Regions from separate parts of the Homo sapiens genome. Here all the other regions are linked to region 1. Evidence: promoter capture Hi-C in 16 types of primary human blood cells and fetal thymus (Javierre and others, 2016). All regions are on one chromosome and are shown on one strand. The core of a region is centred on a gene start or on the middle of the fragment in contact, and the rest is flanking DNA. Distances in the headings are between cores, read along the strand shown.

Region 1 (3,281 bases), core at 342-2,841:
ACCTTTTTTGATCACCTGCTCCATCCTGACTCATTCTGATTACCAGCTCTGCCCTGACTCATCCTGATCACCTGCTCCACCCTCACTCCCGCCAAACCACTCACCCCGTCACTCTCTCTAAATTAGCCAATTGGAATTAGTTTAGCCTGTGCGGTCTAACACTAGCCAATAGGGGAACGACACAGCAGCAGGGGCCACGTGTGTCAGGAATAAGAACCCCTTCCCCTCCCTTGTCCAAGTGTGTGCTCACCATTGCTCCATATGTAAGGGTGCACCCTTCTATAGAAGTATATTGCCTTGCTAAGAATTAAAAAGAAAATTTTATATTTGAGTGCTATTTCTTTTGCGGCACCGAAACTATAACAGTACCCAATCACCTAGTCTCTAAGGGAGAAATGGACAAATGCATAATCATGGTAGGAGATTTAACACACCTCTTAAAAAAAAAACAGAATAAGCAGAAAAAAAGTCTGTAAGGATATAGACGACTGTAAAAGTTGATTAACTAGTCTTAACATTTATAGAACACTGTACTCAACAAATGCAGAGTGTACTTTAAAATGGACATGGAATATTTATCAAAAATCACAATTGGTTTTAATAAACCTTGACATCTTAAGAATATATCTTCTGACTACAGTGCAATTTAACTGGAAATCAGTAAGAAAAACAAATTGCACATTTGGGAATTAAACACACAGAAACCTACGCATGGTCAAAGAAAAATCACAATGGAAATGAGAAAAAAACTTTCAGTTGGTTAATGATGAAACTACTGCATATATATAGAACTTGGTGTGACTAATTGCAAATACTGGGGTGTCCAAGGGCAGACGTTATGAACAAAAAGCTCTATGGGAGGATGGTAAGCTGCTTGGATATCGAATAAAAGGCAGCTTTTTAACCAGAATAATTACCACCACCATTGTCTACACACCTGCAGATACTTTGTGTCTAAGCACCAGCCAGCGTAGCCACGTTTACATGAAAATTCCTAATATTTAAGGGGAGATCGAGAAACACTGTTTCCTTCCCAGAGCTCTTCTCTGAATTCTACACTCATATATCCGACAGGCTACTGAAATCTCCATTTGGATTTCTCACAGGCACCTCAAAAGTAATATGTCCAAAACTGAACCCCTGATGTTTTTTCCCTCTAAAATCGATTCCTCCTGCAATCTGTCCCATCTCAGTAAAGGTCACCGCCATTCCCCAGCTCATGAGATCAAAACCCAAGGGTTGCCGCCCAGGATTGGCATAGTCGAAGCTGATTTTTATCCCCTTCGCCATTAACAACTAGAAAACTAGAAAATACACGAAGCCGCTACTGTCAGATACTGAACAGGAGGTCCAGGCCCGTAATCCTCGAGAGGGGACACAAACGACCCGACAGAGTGAGCGAACAACGTCAAAGGGCCTCAAGTTTGGCCGCCGACTAATAATACTAATAGAACTTCCTGCTTCTGGTGCTGCTTAGGGAGGAAGCACGGAACTGGGCACATTTACTTACCGAGACTTCCCAGTCCCAACCCAAATCCAATCTTCACGCCTGAGGAGACCAGCGTCTCTTAAGATGGACGCCTGGCTGGAAGGGCAGCCCGAGGGAGGCGGGGCGGGAGGGGGCGGCCTGGCGGGGCTGTGGGCGTGGTCAAGGACACCCCGTGCCAGAGCAAGGCTGAAGCTAAGGCCAGACCCCCAGCCTTGGCTCAGAGCCCCACCTTTTAAATGTCCGGTAAGGTATGCTCTCTTTGTTTTTGGTTTGGTTTGGTTCTTACAAAAAGAACTTGACTGTTTAAGTTTAGTCCTTGTTAATAACTTAGTTCAAGCATTACCAATTTTTTGTATCCCAGTTATTCATAAAATTGCCATATATATATATACATCTATCTATATATTTATATATTTTTTAAGAGACGGGGTCTTGTCGCCCAGTCTGGGCCTCAAACTTGGGCTCAAGCAGCCTCCTGCCTCAGCCTGAAGAGTAGCTGGGACTACAGCCCTGTGCCCCCCAGCCACCACGCCCAGGCTACCTCTTTATTTTATTTTATTTTTAACTATTTTTTCTGCCTTTTTAAAACAAATTTTTAATTTTTATGGGTACATAATAAGTGTATTATTTATACAACTCATAGTAGGAATACATGAGATATTCTGATAAAGGTATACAATGTGTAAGAATCACATCAGGAGGCCAGGCACAGTGGCTCACGCCTGTAATCCCAGCAGTTTGGGAGGCCGAGGCAGGTGGATCACCTGAGGTCAGGAGTTCGAGACCAGCCAGGCCAACATGATGAAACCCTGTCTCTACTAAAATACAAAAAAATTAGCCGGGCACAGTGGTGGATTCCTGTAATCCCAGCTACTCAGGAGGCTGAGGCAGGAGAATCACTTGAACCTGGGAGGCAGAGGTTGTAGTGAGCCGAGATAGCACCACTGCACTCCAACCTGGGCAACAAGAGTGAAACTCCATCTAAAAAAAAAAAAGAATCACATCAGGTACACTGAGTATCCATCACCTAAGCATTTATCATTTCTTTGGGTTATGAACGTTCCAGTTACACTCTTAGTTATTTTTAAAAATGTTCAATAAATAATTGCTGACTGTAGTCGCCTTGTTGTGCTGTCAAATATTAGATCCTATTTATTCTAACTATATATCTGTTGTACCCAGTAACCATCCCCACTTTGCCTTACCTTTTTTAAACCAGTTTCAACCACTCAAAGGGCCACAAATGGGCCTGTTTTCGCTTTTGTTTGTTTAATCTTTGATTCCTCTAGCCATTTCTCTGACTCTGACCTCGTTCCTGAGCTCTAGACCTTTATCTCCAACTGCCAGCCACTGGCCTTCAATCTGGCCGTCCTGCTGCAGACACCTCAAACTCAGTAAACCCTAACTTAAATTCATTATCTTTCCCTTCATGTCTGCTCCATCTTCTATGGCTCTAAATCACTAAATGACAAGATGTGAAACAGATGTCTCATCCTCAACTCCTCCTATTCCTTTGCAACCCCCCAACCCTCCACCTTACACAGAGTGACCAAATTCTGCTTATTAGGATACTTCCTATTTCGCCTAGTCATTATCTTATTGCATTTCAATGCCCACTAGGCCCTAATCATCTCAGTACATGCCAACCCAGCTTAATACCGCTACGTTAAGGTAGACTGCAGCAGACTCCCAAAGCGCCTCACTGTTTCCAGTTTACCTCTCCCAAAATCTAAGACCAACTGTTGATCTTTTAAAAATGCAAATCTGACTATGCCTAAAACACATTCCAAAA
Region 2 (3,639 bases), core at 147-2,646, 290 kb after region 1:
CTCAAAAAAAAACAAAAACAAAAAAAAACAACCCATCGATGAATATATTCTTCCCATTTTAAGTAAAGTAAGTGAGGCCCAGAAAAGTGAAATGACTTATCTAAGCTTACATAACTAGACTGTGTTAGAACTATGGTTCCAACTGGCACTAAAGCTCATACGGATTCATTATCAGCATTTCCACAGTGTGCTCCTCAAAAGTTAACAAAACTATACACAATTGAATATATTCAGCCATAAAAAGGAATGAAGTTATGATGTATACTACAACATGAATGAACCTCAAAAACAATATGCCAAGCAAAATAAGCCAGACACAAAAAGACAAATACTGTATGGCTCTACATATACAAAATATCTAGATTAGGCAACTTCATAGAGACAGAAAGTAGAATAGAGTTACCAGGGACTGTGGGGAGGAGGGAGGAATGGGGACTTATTGTTTAATGGGTACAAAGTTTCTGTTTATGTTATGAAAACCTTTGGAAATGGTGCTGCTGGTGAAACAGCATGGTGAATGTAACACCAATGACTTATACACTTAAAAATGGCTAAAATGGCATACTTTATGGTATATATATATTTCACCATAATTTATACAATTTTTAAGTTACAAAATGATGTTGTTGCCAAATAAATTTGGCAGACACTGGATTAAACAGGTTTTCTAATTTTAAGACTTCATAGAGCCTTTACTATGCTTCTAAGTATTGTGAAACTCCAAGAGGAGGATTTGGAGCACAGTTTTTCAAACTTACGAGATCCTCTTGTCTAGGAGTGTGTAGCAGAAGAGAACATACTTTGGGAAATGCTGCACTAAGTCCCATCTCTCCCTTTTATTTTCTATGGCTATAAGTCATAACTTTGGAACAGAGTTGTTACAAATAGGACTGTCTTGGGACAGTTGGCTAAGTCAGGCATCATTACAAGTTATTATGATATGTCTTTTTTAAGCTTCTAGGATACTACAAGTACAGATTTGACAAAGGTGCACCTTGGGAGATTTCTTTAATCACTTGCATTTTGAGGGCACTGAGAAGTCACCAATACAGGGTACATCAAAATAACTTATGTATTTTAGGATTACAGAACATAAGCATCCAGCAACATAGCCACAGGCTCCTAAGGATAGCCAGTGACCAAGTGTCTGTGTATTTATTGATTTAGCACCCCAAATTTTGATGGCACATGGAGCCCCAGTTATGTCATTGCCATTTATCGTGTATTAACTGGCTCCCCTAATCGTGTAAAAAAAAAAAAAGCTGTGCGATTTATTAACATATTAGAGCTATAAACTGTTAATCAGATTTCAAGCAAATCTTCCTTACTTTGGGTTCTGGAAGAATTTAGTTCAATGAACAGTTTGAGAGAGAGCTGCATTCATTTTTTATGCATAATTAGATATTGAAAAACACCTGGGCCGGGTGTGGTGGCTCACGCCTGTAATCTCAGCACTTTGGGAGGCCGAAGTGGGTGGATCACCTGAGGTCAGGAGTTTGAGACCAGCCTGACCAACATGGAGAAACCCCACCTCTACTAAAAATACAAAATTAGCTGGGCATGCTTGCGCATGCCTGTAATCCCAGCTACTCAGGAGGCAGAGACAGGAGAATCGCTTGAACCTGGGAGGCAGAGGTTGCAGTGAGCTGAGGTCGTGCCATTGCACTCCAGCCTGGGCAACAAGAGCAAAACTCCATCTCAAAAAAAGAAAAAAAGAAAGAAAAACATCTGTTATTTTACACGTCAGTTGTCTTTATTACCACATACTGCTCATTTCTTTCATAGAATTTTAAATTATATTGTTTTCTGACACAATGCCTGTTTTCCTCTACCAGATGACAAGCTTTGAGTCTGTAGACCACATTTGTTTTATTTGTCATAACATATATCAAGATCTTAGCATAGGACCTGGTACAAAGTAAATGTATTTTTAGAATAAGTGAACGAACTAGCAAATAGTCTGTTTACTCTAAAAAACTGTACAGGAAGAAATAATATGGCCGGGCAGGATGGCTCACGCCTGTAATCCCAGCACTTTGGGAGGCAGAGGCAGGCGGATCACCTGAGGTCGGGAGTTCGAGACCAGCCTGACCAACATGGAGAAACCCTGTCTCTACTAAAAATACAAAATTAGCTGGGTATGGTGGTGGGCACCTGTAATCCCAGCTACTTGGGAGGCTGAGGCAGGAGAATCGCTTGAACCCGGGAGGTGGAGGTGGGAGGATCCCCTGAGCCCTGGAGGCGGAGGTTGCTGTGAGCCAAGATCATGCCACTGCACTTCAGCCTGAGCAACAGAGCAAGACTCAGTGTCAAAAAAAAAAGAGAGAAGGGAACATATGTTCTTTTTAAATAGGAGCTATTATCAATTTACAAATGAAAAACACCTTCAAAGGTCCAAAATTTATTTTGTTATGCCAGTATAATATAGTGGTTAAGGCCAGGTGTAGTGGTTCATGCCTATAATCCCAGCACTTTGGGAGACGGAGGCGGGCGGATCACCTGAGTTCAGGAGTTCAAGACCAGCCTGTTGATTCATAATCTGAATCAACATGACCACCCACAGCCTATTCATTATCGTCACTACTCTACTATTCTTTAACCAATTCAACGCCAACATGGTAAAGCCCCATCTCTCCTAAAAATACAAAAATGAGCCTGGCATGGTGGCGGGCGCCTGTAATCCCAGCTGCTTGGGAGGCTGAGGCAGTAGAATTGCTTGAACCTGGGAGGCGGAGGTTGCAGCGAGCTGATATCACACCAGTGCACTCCAGCCTGGGCAACAGAGCGAGACTATGTCTCAATTAAAAAAAAAAAATATATATATATATGTAAATATATATGTGTAAATATATGTGTAAATATATATGTGTAAATATATATGTAAATATATATGTAAATATATATATATATATATATATATATGTATGTAATGGTTAAGGCCAGGTATGGTGGCTCATGTCTGTAATCCCAGGACCGGGACGTCAAGACAGGAGGACTGCATGAGGCCAGCAGTTTGAGACCAGTCTGGGCAACATAGCAAGACCCTGTCTCTACAAAAAAATTTTAAAATTAGCCAGGTATGGTGGTGCACGCCTGTAGTCTTAGCTACTTAAGAGGCTGAGACAGTAAGACTGCTTGAGCCCTGAAGTTTGAGGCTGTATTGAGCCATGATTTCATCACTGCATTCCAGCCTGGGTGAAAGAGTGAGATCTTGTTTCAATTTAAAAAAAAAAAGACTGTGCCCTTAGGCTGAATACTTATTTTGGGCCTCACTTTCCTCATCTCTAAAATGAAGAAATTTCATAAGACTAGTATGAGGAATAATAATTCAAGTTTGTAGCATAGTACCTGCCATACACGAAGTACTTGGGAAATAATTATTATTTATTATTATTATTTCCCTCTATATTTCTAACAGGCTTCCAGTATAATTTGATCATTTTTGCATATAATTTGATCAGTTTTATTGCTCACAACTCCTTTTGGGATAAATTCAGGAAAATGTAAGTTGTAACTTTTATAACGAAATTTGTCCATTGAAAATAAGTAAAGATTTTGGTACAAATCCCTAGGTGTTCCCCACAACATCTGAGAACAGTCTAATGTCATTCTTCCAGGTTTGTAAGAATAACCACTAAT
Region 3 (3,446 bases), core at 33-2,532, 340 kb after region 1:
TTCCCTTTAAAGCAGAGGTTCTTTACAGTTTTTGTGCTCTGGATTCTGTAGTAGGCAGAATTTTGGCCCCACGACCTTCACTTTCTGGTGTCATGCGGGTGAATATGTTATATTACACAGCAAAAGGGACTTCACAAACGTAATTAAGGTTACCAGTCGACAGTAACATAGGGAGATTATCCTGGATTTTACAGGTGGTTCCAAAGTAATCACATGAGCTCTTAAAAGTAGAGAATTTTCTCTGGCTGTAGACAAGTGATGGAGCAAAAGGGGAAGCAACACATATCTGAAGGGCAGGAAAGATTCGATGTGTCATTACAGGCTTCAAAATAAAGAAAACTGCATGTCAAGGAAACAGGGACCTCTGTTCTACAACCACAATATTTACGGTAGATCTATCTGACTGTCAAAATACCAAAGTGCTCCACGTGGCCAAATAAAAGGGCAATTCCTTCCAGGACCCCAAAACGGGAGTCTGGTCCCTCTGCATATGACCCCTGTCTGTGTCGAGTTAAGGGTGTTCCTCTCCTTACTATACCTACAGAAGAAAATCTTTATTGTGTAACCAAACTTTAAAAGTCCTCCACAGTCGGCTCTGAAACTACGTATCCCAGAGAGGGGAACATCTCCTGCATCTGTTCATCCGGAAAGACAGGCACACTTCAGACCCTTAAAACCAGACCGTGCGTTAAGGGCAACGCACGCGCCAGACCTCCAGTAAATAGGCGAGTTAAAAAAAAAAAAAAAAGAAAATAAAAGAAAGAAAGAAAGAAAAGAAGAAGAAAGAAAGAGAGAAAGAGACAGAGAAAGAGAAAGAGGAAAAAAAGAAAAAAAAAAAAAAAAAGCACAATCCATAAGGGGAAATTCCGGCCGGAGAAAACAGAGAATGGAAGACTCCGGAGGAGTACTAGAAAAATCGAGCCTTCCACCCGCTACAGGTATCCCTGAGGCGTCGGGCACGAGACCCCGCTCCCAGCAGGCCTCCAGGCCGCCCCTTGCCCGGCTCCTTCGCACCGCCTGCTCCAGCAAGGAGGAGGGCGGCGCGCAGGAGGCCAGCGCTGGGGACCAGGAACCCTACCTCTCAGCGATGTAAAGGGTACCAGTGCCGAGGCCCTTCCCGTTCAGCACAGCCTCAGTGTCTGGCTGCTGCCGCAGGAGCCCCTCCGCTGGCCCAGGCGGCGGGAAACTTTTGAGGAAGCTCATAGCAGCAGAGTGCGGCAACACAGGCCCTGAGGGAGTTGGAGCACAGCAATGCGTGCACCACACCGCCCGCCCTGGAAGAGGCAGTCACCCCGGAAGAACAACTTAGTCTGCCCCGGAATCTGAACGCCGTCGACCATAGAGATGAGACATTCTAGGAAAAGCGGCGGAGGTCGGCTAAGAACGTGTGGAGTTTGACCGCGCAACACCCTTCCCCTTCTTCCTCGCCATTTCTGAGGCTTTGGGCTTCAATAACTGAGGGTTCTGTGGGAAGTCCCTCAGGATTGTCACAGTGAAACCACCACTGCAAAATTATAACTGAGACACTGAAAGCGATCTGACCTACCCAAATCCATGTTGTTTCTAACCTCCAAACTGTCCTTGTTCATTGCTGGATATAGGCTGAACTAACTTTGGGAGGAACTTAGTTTACAGTTTGAAGTTTAAAACAAAGATGATGACAGCCTTTTCCCAAAACAAACTTCCTTCTTGCCTGGGGACTGGACTGCCTTTGTAGGACTAACAAATCAGCCACAAGATTAGAAATTATGGTTTAGATTAGAAATTACAGCTGCAAGCTACAAGATTCTGACCCTCCCTAAACTGCACCTAAGATCGGTGCTTGAGATATGTTGCAGACCCTGCACTTGATGGATCAGCTGGCACCACCAGATGGATAAACTGGCTATGTGATCTTGTGCCCCCTCCCCACCAACCCAGGAACTGACTCAGCGCAAGAGGACAGCTTCAACTCCCTGTGACTTCATCTCCCACCCAACCAATCAGCACTCTTGACTCACTGGCCTTCCCCAACCTGCCAAATTATCCTTAAAAACTTGGATCCCTGGCTGGGCGCGGTGGCTCACGCCTGTAATCCCAGCACTTTGGGAGGCCGAGGCGGGCGGATCACGAGGTCAGGAGATCAAGACCATTCTGGCTAACATGGTGAAACCCCGTCTCTACTAAAAATACAAAAAAATTAGCCGGGTGTGGTGGCAGGCGCCTGTGGTCCCAGCTACTGGGGAGGCTGAGGCAGGAGAATGGCGTGAACCCGGGAGGCAGAGCTTGCAGTGAGCCGAGATAGCGCCACTGCACTCCAGCCTGGGCGACAGAGCGAGACCCCGTCTCAAAAAAAAAAAAAAAACAACAAAAAACAAAAAACAAAAAAACTTTGATCCCTGAATGCTCTGGGAAACTGATTTGAGTAAAAATAAAACTCTAGGCCGGGTGCAGTGGCTCATGCTTGTAATCCCAGCACTTTGGGAGGCCGAGGCGGGCAGATCACGAGGACAGGAGATCGAGACCAGCCTGGCTAACACGGTGAAACCCCGTCTCGACTAAAAATACAAAAACAAAATTAGCCGGGCGTGGTGGCAGGTGCCTGTAGTCCCAGCTACTCGGGAGGTTGAAGCGGGAGAATGGCGTGAACCCGAGAGGCGGAGCTTGCAGTGAGCCGAGGTCGCGCCTTGGCACTCCAGCCTGGGCGACAGAGAGAGACTCCGTCTCAAAACAACAACAACAAACTCTAGTCTCCTGCACAGCAGCTCTGCGTGAATTACTGTTTTTCTGTTACAATTTCCATCTTGATAAATCAGCTCTGTCTAGGCAACAGGCAAGGTGAACCCATTGGGCCATTACAGCAGCAACCCTGTTACAACCCTGTAACCCAGTTACATACAACCCTGTTGTAACTGCCCAATGGGATCACCGTGCCTGCTGCTTAGACAGAGCCTATTTATCAAGACAGGGGAATTGCAATAGAGAAAGAGTAATACACCGGTGGCAATGGCTCACGCCTGTAATCCCAGCATTTTGGAGGCCGAGGCGGACGGATCACCTGACGTCGGGAATTCGAGACCAGCCTGACCAACATGGAGAAACCCCGTCTCTACTAAAAATGCACAATTAGCCTGGCGTGGTGGCGCATGCCTGTAATCCTAGCTACTCGGGAGGCTGAGGCAGGAGAATTGCTTGAACCCGGGAGGCGGAGGTTGCGGTGAGCCGAGATCACGCCATTGCACTCCAGCCTGGGCAACAAGAGCGAAACACTGTCTCAAAAAAAAAAAAAAAAAAAAAAAAAAACAAAGAGAGAAAGACTAATACATGGAGTCCCTTGCCAAAGGATGCATAGGACATAGAGACCACTCATCTGGAGCTCAGAAGTCTCCCAACTCGGTTATGATGTTCTGATCTGGCCACCCCGTCCCCATCTCCTGGGACTGTTCACATCTCAGGTATACACAACC

What was found. The method cuts DNA at HindIII sites, captures the fragments that hold promoters and counts their contacts. A CHiCAGO score of 5 or more calls a contact.
Region 2: a fragment that was not itself captured here is called in contact with the fragment with the promoter of GDPD4 in region 1 in 3 of 17 cell types (M2 macrophages, M1 macrophages and neutrophils); the score reaches 5.8 in M2 macrophages.
Region 3: the fragment with the promoter of CLNS1A here is called in contact with the fragment with the promoter of GDPD4 in region 1 in 2 of 17 cell types (neutrophils and M0 macrophages); the score reaches 9.2 in neutrophils.

The regions. Positions count from the first base shown.
Region 1 is chr11:77,300,095-77,303,375 of GRCh38, forward strand. It overlaps GDPD4 (glycerophosphodiester phosphodiesterase domain containing 4), which reads right to left and starts at 1,592. Exons shown (of 17, transcript NM_182833.3): 1 at 1,511-1,592. The HindIII fragment of the contact is 12,830 bases long and covers 1-3,281 here.
Region 2 is chr11:77,593,642-77,597,280 of GRCh38, forward strand. All of the region lies in intron 1 of AQP11 (aquaporin 11), which reads left to right. Among named protein-coding and RNA genes, the nearest start is that of AQP11, 5.5 kb to the left of the region's middle. RefSeq lists a silencer at 570-770. The HindIII fragment of the contact is 889 bases long and covers 953-1,841 here.
Region 3 is chr11:77,636,512-77,639,957 of GRCh38, forward strand. It overlaps CLNS1A (chloride nucleotide-sensitive channel 1A), which reads right to left and starts at 1,283. Exons shown (of 7, transcript NM_001293.3): 1 at 1,079-1,283. The coding sequence starts at 1,203. It overlaps LOC107984369 (a long non-coding RNA gene), which reads left to right and starts at 3,297. Exons shown (of 3, transcript XR_001748072.1): 1 at 3,297-3,434. RefSeq lists enhancers at 1,011-1,530, 1,185-1,424. The HindIII fragment of the contact is 10,516 bases long and covers 1-3,446 here.